Regions from separate parts of the Homo sapiens genome. Here region 2 is linked to region 1. The links are contacts of gene promoters, found by promoter capture Hi-C in blood cells and fetal thymus (Javierre and others, 2016). All regions are on one chromosome and are shown on one strand. Each heading gives the region's core, a stretch centred on a gene start or on the middle of the fragment in contact. The rest is flanking DNA. Distances are from core to core; before and after follow the strand shown.

Region 1 (3,303 bases), core at 163-2,662:
CTTCACCAACATCTCAGTTAGTGGCAGAATCAAGCTGAAAACCCAAACTTGAAATCGCTGGGCTATATTGCCTCTTTTATTTTGTGCTGCTGAGGCTGTTTAGTGTCTGGGATGGAGCAGCTGCTCAATAAATAACTGATTACATGAAATGACCCCCACATGGCCAAGAAATATATTTGAAAAGTTATCAGGTGAAGGACTCCAGTATCAATGAAGGGGTTCCTTATTCATCTTCACATACTCATTCCACAAACAGTGATAGGGCATCTACAATCTGCAACAGACTCTGCCCTGCAGGTATGGAGATGACTTTTGGACTTGCCCAAAAGTACCTGGAGGACACAGCCCGTCCTTCCCCATCTCCCCTTGTCCAGCTAACCCCCTTCCTCTCTACACACCAGCCATGCTGCCTGTCACTCAAAAGCACTAAACTCTTTCTTGAGCCAGGCCTTTTGAACCTGATGTTATTTCTCCTATCCCTCATTCTGGTCATTCAAGTTTCTGCTGAATGTCACTTTTTCCTGAGTGGACTCCCCAACCTTAACTCTATTTTGCTTCCTTCAGAACACTTAACCCATTCATGCCAGAGGTTGCAATTTTTAGAACTGCAGACGTGAGAAAAATCAGACCTTGGCGATGACCTTGAGCAGTAGGATATAAATAACTCCCACATGCTTAGCGTTCCAATAATGGAACACTAGGCACAAATAACGTTAATTAATCACGATCTGAAACCACCTTGACTAATTATGGTCTTCTTTTCCCACTAGAATGGAAGCTCCCAGAGAGCGGCTCCTGGTCGGCCTCCTTTCCTACCACCTGCCCAGGGCCTGGAATTGAGTAGATGGCTAACAGTTAATGACTAAATGAAACTTAGTGAAGGAGAAAGACATGAAAACTGATCGTTATACAGGAGGCGACTGGCTACGTAGGAGGTGGGTGTGGAGAACCCGGACGACTTCCTGGAGGAGGCGGAAGAGGGCTCAGTAACCATGAGATTACCGAAAACTGGGAAAGTAAATATGGTTTGTATTTTCCGCAAGACAGCTCTCCGGGCCTGCGCTGGGCAGTAGATTCCCAGCTCGAGGGACCGATCTCCAGGGGAAAGCAAGGCCCACCTGGGCCCAGGCCCGCCCATCCCGCCCTCCTCGTAGGCACCGGCTTGGTCAGTCCTGGCCAACCAGCAAAAGAAGCTCCGCCTTCCGGGGCCGGAGGGCGGCCTGAGGCGCTCGCTGTCACCCGCCGGGGCCCAGCCCCGCCGCCTCCGCCGCCCGGGAAAAAGCCCACTCACTCCTCTTCCGCCATCTTCTCCCCCATCCTGCGGAGCTTCCAGGACCACCGAGTTCGGAGCCGCGGGGCTAGCAGGACCCGCTTTTGCTTCCGGCTTCCGCTGGAGGCGCGGGCGGGCGAGCGGGAGGCGGGGCCTCGGCCGCGCGAGGGCGGCCCTCTGTCCCTCCGTCTCAGTGGCCCGAGGGTGGGAGAAAGCGCGTGGGAGGATTGCTTCTTAGTCTCTCCCGGGGCTTTCGGGACGCTTGTCCGGCCTGGGCCACATGACCACCTGGGACCGAGAGATTCCGGCTTTTCCCCATCACAGGGCGGGGACGTTTTGGGGAAACTCCTCTGAGGTCACTGTGACTCACCCTGAGGGCAAGCAAGCACCCTCCACCCAGTGCCCTCGACTTCGCTGTGCTAAAAGAGTTTGAAAAAGGATGCCCAGCCTGCAGCCTAAGCGGAGAGACCCCAGGGGGACACTTCCCCACCCGAGCCTTAGTTTCCTTCGGCTGTGGAGAGGAATAACCGCCTGGACTTGGCAGGACTGTGCAGCATTCCATCTGTAAACATGTGTTGAGTTCAGACTATATGCCTAGCGTTAAAAAGGATGCTGATGATCTAGGGGTGGACCATTCATTAAGGGGTTCATTGATTCACCACATGCTTAGTAGATGCTTCTATGTGCCTAGCAGTGACCGGTGGGGTGGGGATGCAGGGAGGAACAAGGTGAGGTGAGAGGGGTAGGTGAGACCCCCATCGGGAGGACTGGGGCTGAGGACTTTGAACTTTATTGGCCGCTTCTGTTGCTACCTCCCTTCCTGATCCAAGGCACTCTATCTCATCTGGATAATTGCAACGGCTCCATTCAGGGTCTCTGACTCACCCCTGTTCCTTACGGACTTCCACACAGCAGCTTAACTCATCACTCCTCTGCTTAGACCCTCCAATGGCTTCCAATCTCCAGAGAAAAAAAAAACGTGGGGAATGTACAGGACTCAATCCTGCCCCCTTTTCCCCTCTGAAGTGTGTGGGAGGGGGGCATGGGGCTCTATATCTCCCCTCCCACACACTTTGACTTTCCACTATTGTCCCAGACTCACCAGGAATACTTCCACCGTTGCACTTACTGAGCCTTTATCTAGAATGCTCTTCTTCTGGGTAGCTCTTTGGCTCCCACCTCTCCTACGTTTGGCCTTTTATTTAACCCTTATCTTGTGTGTTAGACCTCCTTGACCACCCTACTTAAAATCCAAGGCCCCCCGCCTTCCCTAAACTATTTTTCCACATGACACCTAACCTACCATATGTTTTACTCATACACTTGTTTGTTAACCATCTCCCTCCATGAGAACGGAAGCTTCATGAATGCAGAAATTTTTGTCTGTTTTGTTCTCCATTTTATCTGCAATGCCTACAACAGTACCTGGCACATAGTAGACACTCAATAATAAATAATCATTGAGTAAATAAATCAGTTAATTCTAGCACACCTAGAAGGGTTTTGAACTGAGAAGTAACCTAAGCTTTGCTGCCTGTTGGGAGTTGACTGGGGATTGGCGAGAGAGAGAGGATGGAAGCCCCAAAGCCAGCAAGGAGGCTTTTGCAATAATCTAGGTGACAGCTGATGGCAGTCTGGATGAAAGTAATACGGTGGAGGTGGCAGGAATGGTTGGACTCCTGGACGCATACTGAAGACAAGGTTTGCTGACGGACTATGGCGTATAAAAGAGGAGTTAAGCATGGTGTCAGGGTTTTGGCCCCGAGGAACTGGGTAGAGAAGAAATCTGGCTCTAACCTTGGGTTCTCCATCCTCTGCAGTCTCTTAAGACTGCTAAAGCTGACTGAGAGAATGTCATCAGGATCCACCAATGTTTATTGAGTAATAATAAACTTGCTTCCTTCCTGCAGGTGTGGTGTTGGGCTATTGTTTCCTTAATTCTTTACATAGCTTTGAGGTAGATACCATCATTATCCACAGACATAGAGAAATCAAGGCACTTGCCTGCGGTCCCACAGCTAGCAAATGACAAG
Region 2 (2,995 bases), core at 270-2,769, 270 kb after region 1:
GGTGCCGCCACCATGCCCAGCTAATTTTTGTATTTTTAGTAGAGAGGGGGTTTCACCATGTTGGCCAAGCTGGTCTCGAACTCCTGACCTCAGGTGATATAACCACCTCGGCATCCCAAAGTGCTAGGATTACAGGCGTGAGCCACCTCTCCCGGCCGGTTTACTTTTTTGGTTTATTTTTCATTGCCTGTTTTGGTAGAAATATATGTACCGGGAAATGGTTCTCTGAGTTAGCAAAAAACAACAGTGCAAGTGTGATGATAAATGATGACCAGTGTCAACTGCAGTGTCACCGAGACCACAGGGCCTTGGGAGTACCGCAGTGGCCTGGCAAGCACGTGTCTGTCTAAAAGGGGCGGCTGCAACTCTGCTCCTGCTAGGTTTCCAGGTGGGACCGCAGGTCAGCCAGATTCCTTTTTCAAGATGAGATGAGCAGGAAATCCGGATTTTGTGTGAGTTTCCCCAAATGTTTGAAGGAAGCTTTAGTTTGTTTTTAGGAACTCCCTTGATAAAACACATTTGTGGACTGAATCCAGTGTGTGGGCTGCACCTTTACAACTTCTGCCACCACTGTGCAGGTGAGGGACAGAGCAGGGACCACGCAGGCCTCTCTCGGCCCCCACCTACCCTCATTCCTGCTTCCATTCTCTCTTCATCTGGGAAAACCCCTCTCCTGAGAGATCCTGGTCTCTGGTCTTTGTCTGCACAGGGATCCAGGAGCTCAAGGGGAGGGTGAGAGGGTGAGGCCCCGGGGCTTTGGTTGCGTCTCTTTGTTGTGACTCTCTGCTGAGGCAGAGATGACAAAATGAAAGCCTGCAGTTTCCCTCCCAGGACTGAGGTCAGCCCGCTGGGCTGGGGCTGGACTCCTGGGGCATTTAAAGGGGGCTGGAGGTGAAGGCGCGTCCTCTGAGCGTGGTCCTGTGTGTGTGCGTGTGCGTGTGCGTAAGTGTGCCTCAGTGAGAGCACATGAGAGCTCATGCTAGCTCCCATGTCTTACCCTTTTTCACACTTGACCAGGCCCTGACCTCCTTCTCGGGCCTCCCAGAGCCCCTCAGATCAAGCACAACCTTCTCACTGCTGCAAATGCCTGCCTTGCGTGGCCAGCCCTGACAGCCCAGGCCCTCCCATCCTCTGCCTCACACCCCGGCTCCAGTGCCTGCACCAGCCACAGCTGGCACCTCTCCCACCAGGCACGGTTGCACTCTCAGCTCTGGGCCTTTGCACAGGCTGTGCCTGTTGCCTGAACACGTTCCTCTTCTGCTTCCCCCGATCATCCTGCAGATCTCAGCTCAGACCCTCCCTTCTCTAGGAAGTCTTCCCTGAATCCCTCCCTGGGAGCAGGCATCTCCTCCCCTTCTCTGTGCCCCCATCTCAGCACCGTCCCCTCGAGCTCTCTGCTGCAGCCTCATCAGCCTCCTTGCTGCTCCCCAGCACCGGGCTCCCTCCTGCCCCAGGACATCACACCTGGTGCTTGCTCTGCTTCCTACCCCTCCCTCTGCTCTGCCCATGGCTGACTCCTTCTCAGCCTTCAGCTGTCAGCTTGACACCAGCCCCTCCCTCACCTGGCACCTGACACCACAGCCCCCGCCCTCCCATCCTGCTACCCAGCTTTGTGTCTGACAGTGCCGCGGGGCACCAGCTGGCGCATTATTCATTTTACTCATCCTCTCGTCTGTTGTCTGTCTCCCTGTGCTGAGAGGTCAGCTCCTTGAGGACAGGGATTTTTGTTTTTTTCACTGCCGACTGTTCAGTGCCCAGAATGGTCTTTGGCGCACAGTAGGATTAGTAGTTGCTCACTGGGTGTATGAATGAAGCTCTTGTGAGTAGCTGTGGCCACACATGAGTGTCCCAGGAGGACCCCTGACCCTCTGTCTGCCGCCCCCAGAGCCGGCTACCTGACTCTTTACGGAATTGAGGCGCTGCCACGCACCCATGAAAGCCAGGCCCAGGACCGCGTCCACTCAGCTGATGTCTTCCACACCTTTCGCCAGCTCGACCGGCTGCTCCCCAAACTGGCCCGTGGCTCCCTGTCAGTGGGTAAGCACCATGGGGGCCCCAGTGGGTGGGGGGGAGGATGGAAAGACCCAGAGGGGGAGCCCAATTCAAGGTAGAGGACCAGAGGCAACACAGGCAGAAAGACATCCAATGCCCAGGGAGGCAGTAAGATCCCCATCACTGGGGGTATGCAAGAGCGCAATGGTGGGGAGCCAGGGCTTGGACCAGAGCTTGGGTTCCTGGTGGAAATTCTGATTCAGCACATTTAGAGTGGGGCTGGAGAATCTCTGTGTGTGTGTGTGTTCCTTTTTGTGTTTTAAGGTTTGAGTTGCTTTAAAAGTTTTTACAAGTAGTTCGTGCTGATTATAAAAAATTCAAGCCATATAGAATAATTTACAGGGAAGAATAAAAGAGCGCTCCACTTTCTCCCCAGCCTCAGCCCACCACTTCCCTCTACAGAGGCAACCACCATCACTAGCTTGGAGTACATCCTGGGAGCACTTTCTCTAAACAGACACACAGATGTGTGTTATTTTTATTTTTATTTTATTTTTGAAGCTTTTAACTTCTTGTTTTTTACTGAGGTATAATTTATATACAGGAAAGCACACACATCTAAACGCACTGAGAGGCCAGGTGCAGTGGCTCACACCTGTAATCCCAGCACTTTGGGAGGCTGAGGTGGGCGGATCACTTGAAGTCAGGCGTTTGAGATCAGCCTGGTCAACATGGTGAAACCCCATCTCTACTAAAAATACAAAAATTAGCCAGGCATGGTGGCGGGTGCCTGCATTCCTGGCTACTCGGGAAGCTGAGGCAGAATAGCTTGAACCTGGGAGTTGGAGGTTGCAGTGAGCTGTGATCACGCCACTGCACTCCAGCCTGAGTGACAGAGCCAGACTCTGTCTTAAATAAATAAATAAATAAATAAATAAATAAATAAATAAATGCACTGAGAAGTGGATCTAAACATTTTATGCTCTTTCCCAGCCAGTATTCA

What was found. The method cuts DNA at HindIII sites, captures the fragments that hold promoters and counts their contacts. A CHiCAGO score of 5 or more calls a contact.
Region 2: a fragment that was not itself captured here is called in contact with the fragment with the promoter of SLC9A8 in region 1 in 4 of 17 cell types (endothelial precursors, M2 macrophages, M1 macrophages and 1 more); the score reaches 10.2 in endothelial precursors.

What each region holds. Positions count from the first base shown.
Region 1 is chr20:49,810,937-49,814,239 of GRCh38, reverse strand. It overlaps SLC9A8 (solute carrier family 9 member A8), which reads right to left and starts at 1,412. Exons shown (of 16, transcript NM_015266.3): 1 at 1,292-1,412. The coding sequence starts at 1,317. RefSeq lists a silencer at 1,164-1,443 and an enhancer at 1,594-1,733. The HindIII fragment of the contact is 7,464 bases long and covers 1-2,631 here.
Region 2 is chr20:49,538,612-49,541,606 of GRCh38, reverse strand. It overlaps PTGIS (prostaglandin I2 synthase), which reads left to right. Exons shown (of 10, transcript NM_000961.4): 5 at 1,886-2,037. Among named protein-coding and RNA genes, the nearest start is that of PTGIS, 28 kb to the left of the region's middle. The HindIII fragment of the contact is 2,073 bases long and covers 483-2,555 here.